2 separate regions of the Homo sapiens genome follow, and region 2 is linked to region 1. The links are contacts of gene promoters, found by promoter capture Hi-C in blood cells and fetal thymus (Javierre and others, 2016). All regions are on one chromosome and are shown on one strand. The core of a region is centred on a gene start or on the middle of the fragment in contact, and the rest is flanking DNA. Distances in the headings are between cores, read along the strand shown. Region 1 holds the start of LHX8-AS1 (LHX8 antisense RNA 1). Region 2 has its middle 57 kb from the start of TYW3.

Region 1 (6,215 bases), core at 1,840-4,339:
GTGTTGCTGGGGAGAACCTTAGACACCAAAGTTGTGGGCGGTCGGCGCAGGCTTGTGTGGGGCTCATTCACCCTGGCTAACAACTTGAGCTGAGGGTTCCCTTATCAAAATGTCATCCAAGCCTGTGAATAGGAGGCTCACACAGCCCCACTTCTGCCTCTCACCTATCCCCAGAAACCGAGAAAACCATCTGGTTTTTGCACTTAGATAAAGTTTAACTTTCCTGCCACACTGGCCGAGTTGGGCTTTCAGACATCCCTGGGGAAGTGGGAAAACGGGGATGTGGAAGGGGAGGAGAAGCCTGAAGGGCCTCGGTTCCATCCTCTTTCTTGATCAGCGAACTCCAGGCTATATCTGCCCGGTTTGCCTAGGACTTGTAGGGAAACGCGGTAAAGGGAGGCGGGTAGAGAGTTGGATTCTCTCTCTCTCTCTCTGGCCACCTTGGATTTCGGCTTTTACAGAATTATGCAGGCAGAGTTCTGTAGAAAGAGGTTAGAATCAGGTTTCCATTGGTCCTGATTTGTTTATCATTCTAAACAGTAAAATGCATATAAAACCGGCACCTCCAAACCACAGGCGTGCTTAAGGCGCTATTGTCGGCTTGGAAATGTCACAATGAATAAATGGTGTGATGGACTTTAGCGTTTCGCGCCATAGCTTTTAGCCGGGAAGCTTTCCAGGCTGCCCTGCTTAATTTCGGCGTGGTTCCTAATTTTCTCTCTCCCATCCTCTCTCTTAGACTGGAAACGCTTCCCCTATTTCTTCCGTAGCGGACCGGGAGAGCTTACTGGCGCTCTGCGAACCGGCTGGAAAGAAACACCGAGTCACTCGTACAGACTCTTGGTCGCAGAACTTGGCTTTCCGCTATTGGTCCTCCAGAACCGCTTGAAACAACTGGCCCCAGCTGGCGCATCAGACCGCAGTGAGGAATGCCGCGGGGCGGGTGGCGAAGGCAGGGTCTGCCCGCCAGTGGATTCCCGGGTGTCCCGCGTGGAGCAGGCTTGCCCAGCTGGGAAGCCCATCAAACCTCAGTCTTGGCCCACAGTGGGAGAGAGACCAGTGGGTCCCAGACGGAGGCCCTCGCCCGCTTTTGGCGACCTCCACTGGCGTGAATAAAAGCACCCCTCTCTTACCCTCAGAAACTGTGGGTAGCAAGGTATAAAACGGAGTCTGGGACCGGTAAGTCCCAAGGTGAGCCCGTATACAGCTCTGCCATCTCTGAGGGGTTATGCAGATTCTGAGCAGGGTAAGTTTGTGGAAAGAACCTCTAGAAGCAATCTCCTAAAGTCTTTTTCCAGACTAATATTTATAATGGTTACACGTGATGGGCAAAAATCCAAAGACACGGTCTCCTAACCCTGAACCAAGTGTGACATCCACAGTTTCAGAGTGGTTTTAGCTGAGATTTCACCTTCAGGGATCGAAGGAGTCGCCAACCAGAATTCTGCCAGAATCCGCACCTTCTTATGATCGCGAAAGTCTCCCCATCCTCCACCGCCTCCTACAGTCCTATGGCCCACTGTACCCTTGGCGCTGGAGCCCTGGAGGTGGGCGGTGAGGGCCGCGGGCCAGGGAAAGCTCGGGTCCGCAAGAGCAGGGCTCTGTTTCTGCGCCTGCAGGCCGCCCGGGAGTCCTGGATGCGCCTCCTTTGACCACGTTTTCTCTCAGGCTCCAGCTGTGCCTCGCCCCGATCTCCACAGGTCTGACCCAGGCGAGTCCCTAGAAGGCGGGCGGGAGGAGCCGTAGCAGGGGCAGTTTCGGGAATCCGAGTTTCCGGAGATTGCCTGAGCACCGCAGAACCTCCAGGTTAAGTTCTCTCAAACGTGTGGTTACTCACCCCGAGGAGCTCAGAGGCAAAGGGTTCAATAGTCAAGTTGGTGGGGACTTTCCCTACTTAAAGTTATAATTTGCTAATTCGGATCTATTGCTTTTAAATATCGAGTTCCAGAGACCTCTGTCAATGCAGGCTTAATTTCATCCCACTGATGAAGGATGTTTATAAACGGCGCCTGCAGTGCGAGCTGAGTGTGAAAATATCAGTTTTATGCCTTTTGATAAGAATTACCGAGGCGGAAGGCTCATTAGACGATTACAAATTTCGCAGCTGCTCGCAGCCCAATTAGGCAGCTCTTCGGGTGAGTGGAAGCTGTGGGGGTCAGGGCGGGTTGATGTTCCCTCTCTCCAGCCCGGACCTCCAATCAAGGCCTGGCTCCACGGGATCTAGACCCCTTCCCTGCCCCCATCTGTTTTTAGGGAGATACACTCAAGGCTTCCCTTAAGCAGGAGAGGCACAGCCTGGGACAGGACGCACTCCGAAGTCTCTCAGGCTGTCTTTCCCATGGGCTTGCAAAAAGCCCTGTGGTCCACGGATGTTGGTAGACACCTTGGGTGGGCCTGCCGCCTCTGATTTTCAAATTTTCAATTTAGTAGGTAGGAACTGTCACGACGCAGGCGATTGCTTTTCCACCTGTGGACACATAAGATGATGTTTTTTTGATCAGAGTCTTCGTTCAAAATTGGAATCAATTGGCGTTTGGGCTAAAAACCCTCATTACTAAGACCAAACAAACAAACAAAAACTCTTTTGATTTTTAGCGCACCCCTGTAAAGTAGGAAGATAACTTTTCCGTTGCCCCAGCCGAGGATGAGCGTGGGTAAGAGGCGTGACGCGAGCTCCAGGGAACCGGGCCACCAGGAAGAAGCTATACCTTCGTACGCCCACCCCTGACAAAAGGTCAGAAGGTCGTTGGACCCCAGACCGACAGGACGATCAGCCCTGGGATTCATAGCAAACACATTCCCCTCTTCTTGCACACTCGACCCCCAGCCAAAGGCTTATACCGCCCAGGACATAGAAATTGACTCACCGCCCAGAGGCTTACAGCTCAAGGAGGGGTGCGCGCAGCTGCACCCCGGGACAGGTCAGCATCCCACAAGGCGCCTGGAGTAAAGCGAGGCCAGACCAATCTTTCACGTCTTCTGCTCCTGTCTGACGACCATTCTTCTTCCCCAAGCCCAGAAACCTCTAAAAATGAATCATTTTCTCCACTTATGCAGAGATAGACGCTCTTAGATCAAGGTTAGTATTTTGAAAACCTGACTGAGAGCCGCCTGATTAGGCGAGGGTGGGTGGAAAGACCGCATAAATGCCCGCACCCCCGCCCTGCTTCCCTAACACAGCTCCAGCTCTCTCTGGATCTCCAAATGACCCGCGCGATAAATTCTCCTCGATAGTAGCCAGACAGTACCCCAGATTCACTTTAAACCCTAACACACACACACACACACACACACACACACACTGTAATTAAATATCCAAACCGGACCTTTATGTTTAATTCCACTTTCAACGAAATCCTGCTCTATACACGACCTGATGGCGCCAATGTTCTGCACGACTCTGACTTTCCATTCGGAAGAGCGGTCTCCACAACGATGCTATTTCATGGAAAATGCATTATGTGAATTTCTCCACCACCCCCAATACCGATTTCTGCATTTGATGAAAAACACAAGTCTTTCTGGTTCCCACGCACAAGTTAGCTTTTTGAAAAGTCAGTCCACCCCAATCTTTCAATTTTCTAAGAGGGCACAGATTAATTATATCGTCCTCCTCCCTTCGCTCAGTAAATTTAAACGAGATCTCCCAGAGAGGACCGGCAGGGGGATGGCTAATATTAACTTGTGCGCAGCTGCGCGAAAAGAAAAACAATGGCGATAGGAAAATGCTCTGAAGACTCTAGTGTTTATGGGAGAAAAATGCAATGGAGGAAAAACTAAATTTGTAGTGGTAACTCGGTCCCAGACTCTTACACAGGCTCACTTCATCACAGGAAAGGCTATCTATCTCCTCCGCTAGCCGGCTGCTGACCGAGCTGGGGTCTGGGCAAGATCATTTCGCTCTTTTTCTTCTATACAAATAAGGCAAGGAGATAAGATATGTGTGTGTGCGTGTGTGTGTTTTACATATATATTTCCATCTAATTAAAGCAAAATCCTATGATTCTGTTAAAGGCCTTTAAGAAATAGACTCCTAGATCTTCTTAGTTTCAGAAGTTTAGCTTTTTAAATGGAAACAAAAATCATTTAAAAATAATCTTTTAACCAAATTTGTCTTTATACACTAAATAATGAAATAAAGTTTATACCACAAAGAGTCTGTTTAAACAAACACACCTTCCAATCTTAATCAAAATTAAGGTACCCTGAATACCTCCCTCCGCCGCTTCCCCGCCCCGCAGTCAGAACTTGAGGCAGAAGACAAGGCTGCTCGGGCTTACATTTTGTCTAGGAGATGAAAGAGCAATACTCATTAGCAACATACTTTTGTCTTTCTTGTAGCCTTGATTTCAAATCTAGTCGCAAATCATAAGCTTTTGTGTTGCTCAGATGTTCCTTCTTTATCTTAATGAGAAAACTTTTCGGAAAGGGAGCGCGAACTGCTAGATAAGTCAGCTCCCAGGCTGCCAGGAGCGGTGGCATTCCTCGGCTACACCGGACAGCTGCGAGTTTCAAGAGAATGACTAAAACTTTCAAGTCACCCAGACCTCCACTTCCCCTTCTGCTTGCTGCAGAAAGAGATGTAACCTGAATCTTTGTTTAGGTTTGGGTTGGGGAGCGAGAATTTAAAAGTTATGGCAAATGCAGACAGCAGATTTTTTAAAGTCAAGTTAACAGGACATCCCCCAATTTTTTTTTCTTTAGTACTAAACCTGAAGTCAGTTGGCGTGTTCTGATAAAGATTTTAACATGTAGAGAAGGCGGGTTTTCCTGAAAGAGGCGAAGCAATTTCTCCAGGAAAGACTTTCCCCCACACGCCCCCTTCCTTTATATTAGGTTCCACCCTCTGGAAAACAAAACTTTTTTTTTTTTCTTTTCCTGGAGGGACTCAGGAAAAGCTCAGTGCTCACTTCACTCAGAGCTCAGTGAAGCTGGGAAAGGAATTTTAAGAACGGTTCATCAGAAAGTGGTCAGGCCACAGCGGCCTCTTTGGACGAAGACACACTTGTAGCATTATCCTTCTCGGCATCAGCTTTTATTAGTGGATCGGGGCGGGGGAGGGGGGAGATCGGCAGACACGGACAGCCTCTGACCCTCTGGAGTTGGTATGTGATAAGCAGCCCTAGCAGTGCCATGTATTGGAAGAACGATCAGATGTTTGTGTGTAAACTAGTAGCAAAGGACGTGCCGGAGCTGGCAGTTCCCCCTGAGAAGGTGAGCGAGCCGACGCCTGGCCAGACCAGCTGAATCGCAGTGTCCTTGAAACTCGAGTTGTTTGGGCTCCTAAACAAGGTTCAGAAACTACCTGTAACGGCCTCATCTTCAGACCTGGCAATTTTTTTTTTTTATTACGTAGTAGCGTTAGTCAGTAATCATTGCACTCCCTCCCCAAAAGCTCACTTAACCTGAGACATGGAGACTGTAATTTGGGAGATGAAGCCTCGAGCCTAAGGCGCTCTCAGGTCCATGTGAGTCGTGCTTTTGTTCTATTTGCTGTGGTGATCGTGGCGGTCCGGGAGAGTGGGTCGGGAGGACTGGGCGGCTGTCGGGTGGAACCGGAGACCTGGCTCGTTTCGTTCGGCTGCCCGCGGACACTTGCCTGCCCTGAGGCACACCTCCCTCTGCGGGGCTCCAGAAAGGCCTCCGGGATCCCTGGGCTTGCCGGGAGAGCCATTTTACCTAAAATGCCAAAAGAAAACCGCAGGGCACAAAACGAGTCACGCGGTTTGTCTGAGTAGACTGGGGAAGCTGACAAGCTCTCACCTCACTCGGGAGGCAGGACCTGTGGGTATTTGGTGTTTTAAGTTTGAAATCATCTGCAGCCTGTCTGAGGGCCTCAGCAGGACGCGCGCGGGGCGCCCCTGACTATTTCTTTGCTCCGAAGCCGGTTGGGGACACCAGGCGAAAGCGGAGCTGTTCTGTTTAAACGCCCTTTGTGTGTGAGGACGCGGCCTCAGTGCAGCTACGCTGGGTCCCGCGTAGGGAGCGCACCCCAGAAAGGGAGGGTCTCGGCCGACGGTCCGGGAGGCCCCCAGGTTGGTATCTTGCCTGGTGCTTCCAGAGGGAGGGAGAAGGGGAGGCGAACAGTCAGAAATGCAGAAGTGCGAGCCGCTCGAGTTCGGGGTACCCACCCGCCCCCGAGCTAGAGTTTTTGGAAACGAAAGCGGTCTAAGCCCAGGGACGCTGCGTTTTCGTTTAAGAACAAAACTCCAGCA
Region 2 (6,424 bases), core at 2,060-4,559, 340 kb before region 1:
ATGTAGCAATCTCCTATCCTACTCAGGATCTGACTCCCCACAGCGACCCCCTCCCTCCAATCCCTTCTTATCCCATTGGAGCTGTGTAAGACATGTTGGGCTGTCCACACAGAGAAATGCCCTCCTTACCTTGCTTGGGCTCTAACTCCCCATGCAAGGCAGTCTTCCTATGAATATGCCGTCCTATTTTCTCTTAATCACTAAGGGAAATGGGTAAGGTGTGCCCTTGTTCTGGGCCATTGCAACTCCTAAACCGTTACCCCACTGCAAGGCTCAGCTCCACCTACAGGCTCTGAGATCTAATTGTTTAGGGAGGGAAAACGAAGGACAAATAGGATGAATATTGAGACTTTTTGATATTTTGCAAAGTTCTTACAATAAACGTGTATTAGTTTTATAATTTTTAAGAGTTTTTTGTTAATTTTAAAGATCAGATTTTGATACATTAGACCAAAGGTTAGCAATCTTTCTGTAAAGGGCCAAATAGTAAATATTTTTGGCTTTGCACTCTATACAATGACTGTCACAACTGCTCAACTCTGCCATTAGGAAAAGCAGATGGTCTTAGCTATATTTCAATAACAGTTTATTTACAAAAATGGGCAGCAGATCATATTCGGCCCTCAAGTCATAGGTTGCCAATCCCTGTCCCTAGGGTTTGGGTGCAATAAGCCAAAGTTCAAGCCTAAGCATGCTCTTTGAATACCAGTGAGATGTTAGACAAGTAGTTTATTATCTCCAAGCTTCATCTAAGATTTTTGGGAGTCTCTCATGGACTATCAGTTGTGTAGCTACATTGTAAATGGTAAACTGTTACATAATATACTTACTAAAGATGCTAACCCAGAAATGAGTTATGAGAGGGTGAGATGATTAAAAAGAACATATAAATGATCAAAAAAAAAAAAAAAACAACCCCATCAAAAAGTGGGCGAAGGACATGAACAGACACTTCTCAAAAGAAGACATTTATGCAGCCAAAAAACACATGAAAAAATGCTCACCATCACTGGCCATCAGAGAAATGCAAATCAAAACCACAATGAGATACCATCTCACACCAGTTAGAATGGCGATCATTAAAAAGTCAGGAAACAACAGGTGCTGGAGAGGATGTGGAGAAATAGGAACACCTTTACACTGTTGGTGGGACTGTAAACTAGTTCAACCATTGTGGAAGTCAGTGTGGCGATTCCTCAGGGATCTAGAACTAGAAATACCATTTGACCCAGCCATCCCATTACTGGGTATATACTCAAAGGACTATAAATCATGCTGCTATAAAGACACATGCACACGTATGTTTATTGCGGCACTATTCACAATAGCAAAGACTTGGAACCAACCCAAATGTCCAACAATGATAGACTGGATTAAGAAAATGTGGCACATATACACCATGGAATACTATGCAGCCATAAAAAATGATGAGTTCATGTCCTTTGTAGGGACATGGATGAAATTGGAAATCATCATTCTCAGTATGGTGGGAATTGAACAATGAGAACACATGGTCACAGGAAGGGGAACATCACAGTCTGGGGACTGTTGTGGGGTGGGGGGAGGGGGGAGGGATAGCTTTAGGAGATATCCCTAATGCTAAATGACGAGTTAATGGGTGCAGCACACCAGCATGGCACATGTATACATATGTAACTAACCTGCACATTGTGTACATGTACCCTAAAACTTAAAGTATAATAATAATAAAATAAAATTTAAAAAATCCAAAGGAGTTTGGATTTTATATTAGCTAGTGGTTATTTACTAACATGAAAATGAAATATGAGGAAGATTAACCTAGCAGTGAGTGAGGGGATGAAAAACATGGCCTTAAAGTGAAGAGCTAAGAAATGTTTGCTAGGGCCTAGATACAATATCTGTTGAAACAATTTGATCCAATATAGACTAAGAAGGTAGAGACAGTGAGTCTTTATAACCAATATATCAAGAAAAGCAAATGGTAGGAAGGGGAAAGGAGAAAGGAGAGGGAGACGAGGAAGGCGAAGAGAGAGAAATGGGATAAAGAATTTTTTTAAGATTCATTTGCATAACAAATTACCAAAACACATTATTCTGATTCTGCCAACAGACTATAGCCATTCATACTGAAATTTTAAAAATACTCAGACTTAAACTGCATGTCACATTTTTTTGTATCAAGGAAATGAAACAGAAGAAAATTGCCTGAGACTTAAGTACATTAATTCAAAAGTCTTAAAAGCTAAAGAAGGGAACATCTACAGACTTCATTAAGGAGTCTATTTAATATGGTATTAATACAAAAATAAGAAAGCTTCTCTCCATCTCCTGCTAAATTACTTGCTAGAGATCTGGGAGGACTGGTCAATCTTAAGAATGTCCTACTGATACCTTCCCCATTGTTTGTTCAACTTTACATATTTATGCTCTTGAACATCATTGATCTATGATAGTAGCTCATGGGTGAGAGGTTGCTCAAGATGAAAGGTTCACCATTAACATTTTTAGCCATTTTGAAGATTACTACAAATTTCCCAATGAGTCTAAAATTGGTCTAGGAAATTTTATCCTATCAAAAAGAACTCTGTTCTGCCAATGATATGATTTGGTTTATCAGTAAAGACATTAGTTTGGGATCTCAGGAAAAAAGAAGTATCATAATGTGAAGGGTTAATAATTTGAGAAAATAAATTGCGTGCTCTTTCTTCTCCTCTATAGCCATTGCCTATCCTCCCTGGAGAAGTGTGGCCACCATTTGTTTCGTGAGGTTAATTGTCAAATAAAAACAAATCACAACAGAAAATTATTTTTATGCTTAAAAACAATGGGTCCAGATGTCAGGGGAAAAAATGGGAAATAGAAGCAGAAGCAGTCTGACCCTAAGTTTCTAGTGTTGGCTCTGCTTCTTTCCTAGTACAGGAAATCGTTATTTTATTCCTGCTCTATGATAAACATAAAGTACAGTGCTCAGCAAACTAGATATTCAATCAATGAATAAACAAATCTAAGACCTTGGTTAAGTCATTTACCCTATCTGGAACCATTTTAAAATTTTGAAATAATATTCTCATTTTAATTTGATATGAAGATTTAAAATGTGCTCTATCAATGTTAAGTGAAGAGTAGCTGTGATGATGATGGTGATAAATAAAAAATAGAGTTGCTATGTCCCCAGATTCCCCTGCACATTTTTTTTTTCTTTTACCCAAGACATTTTGGATCCTTTCAATATCCGGTGGAAACATAATTGAAATGTATAAAACCATGGAAGCAAATGTGTTTCTCTAATTTAGAGAAAGAATGATGTTCAGGTCTCATGATAATCCCAGAGTCAACATTCTTCTAGATAGAGGAAAAATGAGGGGTACATAGACAGGAGGGTTGAAACCCATTCTTACGTGAAAGAAGAGGCCACTACATTTGTTCAGGAAAGGTAAGAACAAAATGCTAATGCACTGAACCAATGGACTGGCTGAGGTGCCTGCTTTGATGCTTGGACATAACAATGAAGACAGCCCCAGTTACCTGATTCCCAGCCCAATGCTCCAGCCCTTTGTCACTTACTAGACACATTTCCTCTTTAATAAAGTTCTAATTCAAGGGTCCATGTCAGATGGGGGTGATTTGGAAACATTTTAGGGACTGAAGGTTTATCAAAGTACTGTAATGGCCATGGAATGATTAAAAGGAATGTGTGTGTTCAAATACAAATGAAGAATGATCTGAAGGTAGGGCACAAGGAATAGCAGATGGTAACTATTAATTATTAGCCTATTACCAAGGCTTCAGTCCAGTAAGAAAGAAGGTATTCTATGTCTGACTCATCATCATCTAACAATTTCAGTGCTTTGATTTCTCACAAGAACACAAAAAGAAGACATTTCCTCCTTCTGTTGGTATGTTTGAGAGAGAAAAATTGTATGGCAATGTATGGAATAGTACCACATTAAATTCCTGAACATATATGTCAGCAGCACAACAGACAAAAAAAAAAAAAAAACCACCAGAAGCATGAATAATGAACAGCTCTGGAGACATTATTCTGTATATCTCTTGTTCTTAATTAATGCAATTCTATAAGACTGCACTGGCACATGGAGATTGAGAACCCCCTCTCAGCCTTATCTGCGTTGAGGTAGCATATAATAAGCGTGTAGTCAGCTTGTGCCCTAGTCAAACGGTTTTAATAAAACCCTACAAGCACTTCAGATGTGAAGCGGGTGTGTGGGAGGTAATGCTAGGCATGAGCTGAGCCCAACTTTATGAATGAAGTGGTTACATGTCATTAATGTTTCAATAGGTCCCCTAACAAGGGTAATTGGATCTCCAGGGAACCTCACCAAGCTTCCAAGTTAAATTTGCCAGTGGTGAGGATGCTCAGGTCTTGAAGGTAAGCGGAACCATTCCTGTTTTACCTTGAACCCACGGGTCAAACAGGCCTAAGGGAAATAGTTTGAAGCTGTCATTTAACATTATTACCGACATGTACTGTATTTCCAAGCAGCCTGCAAAAGGAGCCAGAGACATGCATGCATGGCCCCAAGCTGCAGGGTGGTAGCATGTCACATGTCTGGTAACAGAAGGGGATAACCATCCCAGTACAAACTTGACATATATAAATTGATTACATAAGTGGGCAGTGGTGGTCCTTTCAAGTATTCTCCTTTTGTTTGAGCTTTACAGTAAAATTACCAGCAGCAGTTTACAATTAAGGGGAATAATAATAACTGAATATGCTTTCATCTGTACATACAATTATAATGAGCTGCATGCCTTAATAGGATTGTGAAAAATCTGCGTTTGACCCACAGAAAAAAGTAAACATTCTTGTTCTGGATACTATATCATTATCACAACAAAGAGAAACTCCTGAAATCTGATGATTTAAACATCTGGAGAATGTTAATCACTTCAAAATGACGGATGTTTTTTATTTCAGCTTTTGACAGACACACTCCTTTCATAGATAGATGATTATTTACATAAATTACATCATCAATGTGAAAAAAAATCAGAATAACTTCAAAGGATAAAATGCTTAATTAAAAAGAGACTTGTGCTTCTATTTTTTCTCTCTTTCTCTGTTTTTCCTCTAAAGGAGGAGTAAAAAGGCAAATCTACCAATTCCATTGTAGGTGAATATGTAATGAGGTAGTTGTGTTTTTAAATTTCTTCATGTAGAATACATATAACTTTAAGAATAAATTACTCAATTTTTAGTATCCTGAAGCTTGTTAATTGCTTTAAGTCCACTTCTAATTTCTAAAGTTTCCCTTTTTAAAATGGAAATTTGGGGTTCACTTAGTCATTCCGATAGATGAAACAGAACAGATTCAAGCTCAAGTTGAGTCTGAAATTCACCCTCTCTTTTTGTTCAACTTTCAAATTAGCCTTGGTAGATGGAGGGAAACAAACTTTTAAAGCAACTCAGCACTGAATGAAGAGTTTAATAGACCTTATTTCATTGTTAATGCAGGAGTTTTTTTGTTTTGGGCTTTTTGTTGTTGTTTTTTGTTTTTGTTTGTTTGTTTGTTTTTGTTTTTTGGTGGAGCCTGAGAAAATAAAAGTCAAGAGCAGCCCAAAAAGAAAGAATTGAAAACTCTGCTCTTTCAAGGAGCTCTGGCTGTAGTCCCTCAGGGTCTGCCTCTGACTGGCGGCATGCTGCCTAATGCTGGTTGGTAGAACTGGTGCAATTTTGTTGATCCACTACAATTTCCCCCTACACTCGGAACTGATCTGCAGACTGACCTTAGACAATTTGTCTTCTTTCAGGGAGAAATGTCACCCAAAAGGAAGCTATTAAGTCAAGAAGGTAATTCTCTTAGAACAGTCCACTGTATAAACAGAACTTGACCTCAAGTAATTTATTGCTGGTCCCTAACAAAGAGACTTAAGAGTTAGGTCTGATATAGTTGAGATCTGAATCTGTCAATACAAAGGGCAAGCCAGAATCTTGCAAGATTTCTTTTGAGTGGCCATGTTTAGAATATAAGCCAGATCAATATAGTGTTCACACAGGAAACTGGCATTTGGTCTTTTAGAACGAAAAGTTCATTTTATTAACAAATCAGAAATTTGTACTTGCACAGTTCAGCCACTTCCTTAATGACTCCTAGATGATTTTTGTTAGGCTAATACCTAAACATTATATAAAGACTATATTTCCTTGAAAACACTGGGTTAGTTTCAGTGCTCAAGATACAGGTATGTCCCACATTGCTAAGAGGTTTATTTTCTTTTTAACTGAGTGGAAGGTGAAAAGTTAAATTTCTTAGTTGAGTGGAATGAATCATGTTACTTGAGGGCACAGAATCCAATCAATGAGCATCTCATGGTTCAGGATCTGAAAGGGTCAAACTGCTAAGCTGTCTCTTGACAATATCTCATGGACCACCTTTGACGGATGGATATTAGAGAGACTTCTAGAAAAAAAAAAGGAAGA

What was found. Contacts are between HindIII fragments. The CHiCAGO score rates a contact against its expected background, and 5 or more counts as called.
Region 2: a fragment that was not itself captured here is called in contact with the fragment with the promoter of LHX8-AS1 in region 1 in 1 of 17 cell types (endothelial precursors); the score reaches 5.3 in endothelial precursors.

What each region holds. Positions count from the first base shown.
Region 1 is chr1:75,129,487-75,135,701 of GRCh38, forward strand. It overlaps LHX8-AS1 (LHX8 antisense RNA 1), which reads right to left and starts at 3,090. Exons shown (of 2, transcript NR_187397.1): 1 at 2,868-3,090; 2 at 1-2,467. It overlaps LHX8 (LIM homeobox 8), which reads left to right and starts at 4,902. Exons shown (of 9, transcript NM_001256114.2): 1 at 4,902-5,468. RefSeq lists a silencer at 744-944 and enhancers at 1,850-3,049, 5,207-5,719. The HindIII fragment of the contact is 3,701 bases long and covers 671-4,371 here.
Region 2 is chr1:74,786,844-74,793,267 of GRCh38, forward strand. No RefSeq gene overlaps it. Among named protein-coding and RNA genes, the nearest start is that of TYW3, 57 kb to the left of the region's middle. The HindIII fragment of the contact is 2,030 bases long and covers 2,295-4,324 here.